Linked DNA regions of Homo sapiens: region 1 is linked to region 2. Evidence: promoter capture Hi-C in human tissues and cell types (Jung and others, 2019). All regions are on one chromosome and are shown on one strand. The core of a region is centred on a gene start or on the middle of the fragment in contact, and the rest is flanking DNA. Distances in the headings are between cores, read along the strand shown.

Evidence for each region. Contacts are between HindIII fragments. The study calls those that stand out against the background at their distance.
Region 1: a contact is called between a fragment that was not itself captured here and the fragment with the promoter of CLEC2L in region 2, in 1 of the 25 tissues and cell types used here (dorsolateral prefrontal cortex).

What each region holds. Positions count from the first base shown.
Region 1 is chr7:140,908,396-140,911,837 of GRCh38, forward strand. The region is part of intron 1 of BRAF (B-Raf proto-oncogene, serine/threonine kinase); the gene reads right to left. Among named protein-coding and RNA genes, the nearest start is that of BRAF, 15 kb to the right of the region's middle. The HindIII fragment of the contact is 4,458 bases long and covers 1-3,442 here.
Region 2 is chr7:139,522,017-139,525,761 of GRCh38, forward strand. CLEC2L (C-type lectin domain family 2 member L) reads left to right here and starts at 1,669. Exons shown (of 5, transcript NM_001080511.4): 1 at 1,669-2,101. The coding sequence starts at 1,912. The HindIII fragment of the contact is 23,998 bases long and covers 1-3,745 here.

The DNA of each region.
Region 1 (3,442 bases), core at 836-3,335, 1.4 Mb after region 2:
GTCCTTGAAAAATTACTGGAAGCAATTCCCTAGAATGAAAGGCCTTTCTCCACACGTGATTTGCCTTTCCATCTGCCAGGCCATGGAAGTAATACTAGTCTGAAACCAGTAACCATGATAAATGGCTGGAGGGTCATTTATCATGGAGGGTCCCTGGACCACCCAGACAGAGCAAACCCTCAAGGCAAATCACTGTGAAGGCTAAAACTGTGGTCACAACTTGAAAGGTTTATTTTTCTTAATTTCCTTTTCCTCCTCCTGCTCCATTCAACCTTCCCTGCAATCACATGGATATGGGAGTGTGTAGACAGTTCAGTTGTTTCACCCTTAACCTAACGATAGAGTCACTGGGGTCCCATCTAAAACTGAGGTTATTCTTTTTGACTGTCACTTTAGATGAACTCTAGGACTTGATTTCTGTCCTCTTCACCCCAATGGTCCACCAAAACCAAAGCCCAACTTGTACAGATTGGCAACTGCCTTTAGGGCAAAAGCTACTTCATCCACTTATTTATTTGGATTCTTGTTTATTCCTAGAATTTGGCCTGGCAGCTCCCCACTATCTTTTCAGCTCTGCAACTGCTCTACGTTTTCTTTTTTTTTTTTTTTTTTTAATACTGTTTCCAAGAATTTTAATTGTTTTCATCTGAATAACCCAGTCTTCCAATACTGAAAACAGAAATCAATTTCTCCTTTTTACAACAACTATTTTGTACATTCTCTATACTACCCTTAAATGTAATTCAGAGGCTGGGCACAGTGGTTCATGCCTGTAATCCCAGCACTTTGGGAGGCCGAGGCGGGCAGATCACCTGAGGTCGGGAGTTCAAGACAAGCCTGACCAACATGGAAAACCCCCGTCTCTAATAAAAATACAAAATTAGCCGGGCATGGTGGCACATGCCTGTAATCCCAGCTACTTGGGAGGCTGAGGCAGGAGAATCGCTTGAACCCGGGAGGCGAAGGTTTTGGTGAGCACGCCATTGTACTCCACCCTGGGCAATAAGAGCAAAACTCCGTCACAAAAATAAAAATAAAAAATAAATGTAATTCAGAGATAATCTACCTTAGTGCAATTTTATAATATTTAGGCTATTACTATAATAAATAACACACTGATGGTACTTTGTACATATATACAACAAGCACTGTGACTGTGGCAGTTACAACTGCAGACTGAAGAGTATTTGCGTCACCAATACAGCACAAGTGACACTGCCATCAATTACGTGATTTTCTAAAGGGGTGGAGTACTCCTGATAAAGTTCTGAACAAAAACTTTAACATTCCTCCAATATTGTGGTAACTGAATTCCTGAAAATCTTAGTGTATATTAAAGGTGCCTCAGTTACAGTGAGCCTAGATGGTGCCACTGCATTTCAGCCTGGGCAACAAGAGCGAAACTCCGTCTCAAAACAACAACAACAACAACAACAACAACAACAACAACAAAAAAGTGCCTCATACACAAAATGGAGTTACTGTCTATGCTCACATCATTATGATCACTTTTTTTTTTTAACCTACATCATCAAAGTCCAGCAAGTCATTCTAGGTCATGTGGTGATTTGGAACAATTCTTAAATGTGCAAACTGTCCTGAACATTGTGGGATGGCTGACTTCCCTGATCCTTTCTCATTAAATGCTAATAGTGTCCTCTTCCTCCATCTTTGTAACAACCAAAATACCTCCGAGTATTTCATCTCATTGCATGCAATATAAAGTGCACTTTTTGTCAGCCTATCACTTTTTCCTACAATCCAGTCCCATCTAATTTTGTCAAATTTTATTTCATACAATTTGCTCAACTATAATCAGCTCATTGTTTCTTAACCAAAACTAACATATGTATTTCCAACTCCAATTCTTTGCAAATTCTATTCCCACTGCCTATTACATCCTTTTGTCTTCCTTCTACCTACCTAAATTAAACCTTAACTTCCATCAAGACCTCACTAGCCCATAACAACTTCCCATGTCTTCTTGATCTGTTATCCACTTTGGTGGTTAATCACGTGCTGCCATATGCATGCTTTGTCTCTTCAATTAACAGTGTTATTGTTTAGAAGACTTTTTTCCCCTCCAAATGAAATCCCAAGCACAATTCCAATATATTAATTTATGAAGTAGAACTGCTTTGGTTGAAACAGAAATTGCCCACCTACCCCCACAAACCAGAGGCTGGCCACTTGAGTTTCTTCCTTACCATCCCCAGTTCTCAGACCAGTCCTTGAGGTAATCTTGTAACACCCAATTTTTTCAGTCCTAAAGGGGAAAAAATACACTTTTTTTTTGAGAGGGTGACTCCTGCTCTGTCACCCAGGCAGGAGTGCAGTGGTGTGATCATAGCTCACTGCAGCCGTGAACTGGGTTCAAGCAATCCTCCCGCCCTCAGCCTCCCAAGTAGCTGGGACTACATGTGGATGCCACCACACTCAGCTAATTTTTTGTAGAGACAGGGGCTCGCTATGTTGCCCAGGCTGATCTCAAAGTCCTGGCTTCAAGCAGTCGTCCCGCCTCAGCCTCCCATATTGCTGGGATTACAGATGCCAGCCACCACATCCAACCAAAACGCTAACTTCGCAGGACTGAAGAACTCAGTGCTGTGTAAATCAACATAATCTTGAAAACAAACTGAAAAGCCATGGTTAAAGACAGAAATCTAGAGAACAAAACTGCCATATTCTAGGTGAGTTATAACTATGCAGACTAAGAGTACCGAAAAAGAATTCAGTCATTTAAGTATTAGACAGTATTATTGTTAAGCAACGAGAGAATAAGTATGAATCCCACACACTCTTGACTTTGAAGGGGTCTAGAACTGCACTGATTAAAGCAGCCACTAGCCATCAGGCTAGTTATTTTTAAATTAATTAAAATGAAATAAAATTTAGTTCCTCAGTCCTGCTATGCAAATTTGAAGTGCACAGTAGCCACATAGATACGGCTACTGTCTACCATATTAAGACGACACTGAACATTTCCATCATCACAGAAAGTATGACTGAACAGTGCAGGTCTAGAGGAAAAAGAAATACCTATTAACAAAAAAACCCCACAATACGATATAGTGAGTAAAACAAGGTAAACTCTGGGATTCTACAAAAGCACAAAGCAGAGGCATCAAACTAGGACTTGGAAAGAGGTTAAGAAAAGCTTCCTACAATAAACGGTAGGTGAGGTAAGTCTGGAAGGTTTGGAGGGTGGGATGGGGGAGGAAATCTGTATTTCAGGTGGTAGGAAAAACATGAGCAAAGACAAGTCAAATTTGGAGAGTGTTTGAAAGAAAGTAATGATGAGATTATGTTATTCTACATAGAAAAACCAGTAAGTATTTGATACAGAAAAGATGAAGAAAATTTTTTTAAAAGAAAAGCAGTTACCAGACCACTCCAAATTTAGCCTACATTCATGGCAGGATAGTGGCAGGTACTTCATTAA
Region 2 (3,745 bases), core at 419-2,918:
GGAGATGTGTTCCAGGCAGAAGGAAGACAGTGTTCAAAGGCCCAGAGGAAAGAGTCAGAATAGTTAGGTGTGTCTAGGGCTGGCAGAGAAGGGGTGGGAGGAGAGGATGCCTTAGGTAGGAGCAGGACTTTGACCATGAGGGACCTTGAGGCCTTGTAAAAAGATGGCCTTAATCCACAGGTAAAGGGACCCCTGAAGGAGTGGTGAGTTTGCACTTTAGGTAGATGCTGCGGGTGTGGAGGGGGAGGGGCTGGATAGGAGGGAGCAAGAGTGGAGGATGGGAGACCCCTTAGAAGGCTGCTGCTGTGGTCGGGCAAGAGAAGGCATTGGCTTGTACTTGGCCAGTGGCTAGAGGGATGGAGTGCAATGCGCAGACTAAGAGTTTAAAAGGGGCCGGGCGGCCGGGCGCGGTGGCTCACGCCTGTAATCCCAGCACTTTGGGAGGCCGAGGCGGGCGGATCACGAGGTCAGGAGATCGAGACCATCCCGGCTAAAACGGTGAAACCCCGTCTCTACTAAAAATACAAAAAAATTAGCCGGGCGTAGTGGCGGGCGCCTGTAGTCCCAGCTACTTGGGAGGCTGAGGCAGGAGAATGGCGTGAACCCGGGAGGCGGAGCTTGCAGTGAGCCGAGATCCCGCCACTGCACTCCAGCCTGGGCGACAGAGCGAGACTCCGTCTCAAAAAAAAAAAAAAAAAAAAAAAGGGGCCGGGCACGGCAGCTCACGCCTGCAATCCTAGAACTTTGGGAGACCCAGGTGGGAGGATCGCTTGAGCCTGGGAGGCCGAGGCTGTAGTGACACTGCACTCCAGCCTGGGCTACAGAACGAGACCCTGTCTCAAAAAATAAAAATAAAAATATTTTAAAAGGGAGAATTCACAAGAGTCAGTGGCCTATTGGATTTGGGGGAGGGAGCAGGAGGAGCTGGGGATGAGGAACTGAAGATGGAGACAGGAACCAGAGGTTGGGGCTGAGAATGGTGGAGGGGGAAGAGGATCAGGGCTGGAGGCGTGGGGCTTCAGGCGACGCGAGGTCAGCTGAGGCAAGGGGCCAGTGAAGGCTCCGGAGGGAGCCCTGGCCTGGGAGTCAGACACCCGCCAAGCACGCACCTGCCTGGCGCCGCCTTCGGAAATGTCCTTGACCTCAAAATTCCACTTCTCAGCCTCACCTGGGGGCATTGTCAGCTAATAATATGTGAAAGTCCCTGGCGCTTAGTAGGTGCTCAATAAATGTTAATTGAATCTGCAACGTCACTTCGCTTGCTCCTTTAGACTCTACTGTCTCTGTGCTCATCGTTCGGACGTTTCTCTCCTTTATCAAGAGTTTGGGGGTCAAGTCACAGCCCCTACCACCCTCTGCTGTGGCTCCAGGGCAGCCGGGAAGAAAGGCGCTCATCTTCCCTGAGCCTCCCTGCACTGTCCCCGCGAACTTTATTCCCATTTTCACAGATGGTGAGCAGGCGGCTGGGGAGATGGAGCTGAGTTAGAACCAGGTCTCCCGGCTCCAAGACTGCGCTCCCAGCTCGACAGCATCCAGCCTCCAGCCCAGGTGGCGGGGTCGGGGAGCCGGCTGTCCCCGCTCCTCCGCGCCTCCTCCCTCTCCGCCCCTGCCCCGCCCCGCCCGGGTCCACGGCTCCCGGCTCCCGCGCGCCGCCTCGCGCTCCTCCCCAGCCCGGCTGTGCGTGGAGGCTGCGGCTCGGCGGGGCAGGCGCTGAGCGCACCGCGGCGGCACCCGGCGCAGAGGCTCCAGCGCGGGGAGCCGGGCTCAGCCCCGGCCTGCCAGCGCCGCGGTCCTAGCCCACCCGAGGCCGGCCTGGGGGGCCCGCAGGGCGCGCGGAGCGCCGAGTGCGCGTCGGGCTGGGCCCCGCACCCCGGTGCAGGAGCGCGGGCGCGGCGCGGCGGAGCGCCCCGCATGGAGCCGGCCCGGGAGCCCCCCTCGCGGGCCCGGCCGCCGCCGCCCCTCGCCGCGCGCCCCGCGCCCGCCCCCGCCGCCCCCAGGCCGCGTTCGCCCGCAGAGGCTGAGGCCCGCGGCCCCGAGGGGCTGCTGCGGCGATCCGGGTCGGGCTACGAGGGCAGCACCAGCTGGAAGGCGGCCTTGGAGGGTAAGCGCGGAGCGGCCTCCCTCTCCTGGCCCAGGGACCCCTGCCCAGGCCCGACCCGCGACCCGGAGGCGGTCAGAGTCACCTTGGCCGCTGTCCCGGAGGGGAGCGCTGGGAGCGCGGCGCCGGGACGCGGCGGAGTCATTCATTTCAGGGCGGCCAGACGCCGGTTCGTGGGGTGGGGTGGGAGGGAACCGGGGGCCACCGCGAGTCACAGCCTCGACCCCGCCTCTGCTGCGACTCCCTCTCTGACCTTGGAGCGGGCTTCACGCTCTGAGCCTTCGTCTCCTCACGCATGAAGGGGACAAACACTGCCTGACACCCACCAGACAGGCGTGTTGAGAGGGTGGCGGAATCTGTGGTCGTGAACACGCTTCGAGTAAAGTAAGAAAGCTGGAGACCCCAGAGGTGGTGCCCGCCCCTGTGAGAGCCGCGGGGACCCCGTGGTGGTGGGGCATGTGGGGAGGGCAGGGCAGGGCAGGGGTGGAGAATCCAGGAGAGGCTCTTCCTTGCAAGGTCAGGGGTCACACCTACTCCTCCATCAGACTGCCTCAGGGAGGGACCCCTGGCCTGCCTCCGGGGCAGTAACCCAAGTAGAGAATTGATTTCAAGTTCATGAGCTCTTTAAGGAAACTTGTATTAGCTACCGCCGGCGGCGTGTGGTGTGGGAGATGCAGGAGTTGGTGAGAGGGTGGCTGGCCCTTTGGGTGCTTCTCAGGGTGCTCCTGGCACCCTGAATCCAAGGACAAGGAGGACCTGGGCAGCATTAACTAGGGAAGCCTGGAGCCTGGATCACCCATCCTTAGGGAGGCAGTGTCAGAAAAGGAGGGCTTCCCAGGAGTAGGTGACCTCTTAGCAGGCGTGGAGACAGAGGGGAAGGTGTTCCAGACCCAGAGCATGACGTATCCCAGGCCAGGTGGTCAGAGCTACTCTGTGCCACGTGGGAACTGAGCCCTGGAGTACTGAGATGGGGCAGGGTGGAGAGAGACGGGCCTGAAGGACCCAGACGGTGAAGGGCCAGCCAGGCCTTGCCCAGGAGCTTGGACTTTGTTCTGAAGGGGCTACTGAGGGGTGGAGATGGTGGGCTTGCCCTTGGAAGACTGGTGGTGGCCCAGAGGGGTGGGACCCAGGCTCGAGGTCAGGGAGGGGGTGGGGCAGTGGACCAGGAGGGACATAACCAGCAGCTGGGCCAAGGCAGGTCATGGGGCTGCTGAGGATGGCGAGGTGGGGATGGTAATGCCAGCCTTCTGCACAAAGGCTATGGGCCAGGGGACGTGCACTGTCCGAGGAAGGGCTGTGCAGACTCTGAAGCTGGACCACCAGACAGTGGCAGGGACAGAGGAGGCGAAGATGTTGCGTCACCAAGGAGAAGAGCTGTAGCAGAGCTGTGGGTTGTGAAGAGTTGTGTGGAATGGATGGAGGTGGTCAGACACCCCCCCGTGACGCTGTCTCCGGCTTTACTGTTGGAGTGGCCCTGTGTTCCCACGCTTCACTCCTGCCAAAGCTATTTCTTGAAGTTGTTCCCTCCTCTTGCCTGTATTTCTTCATTCATTTATTCGTCAGCATTTCTGAAGGGTCTGCCCTAACCTTAACCCCAGCCCCCATGGTAGGGCTGCTTCTGGGCTGCTGTGGCCCTTTAATGCCTCC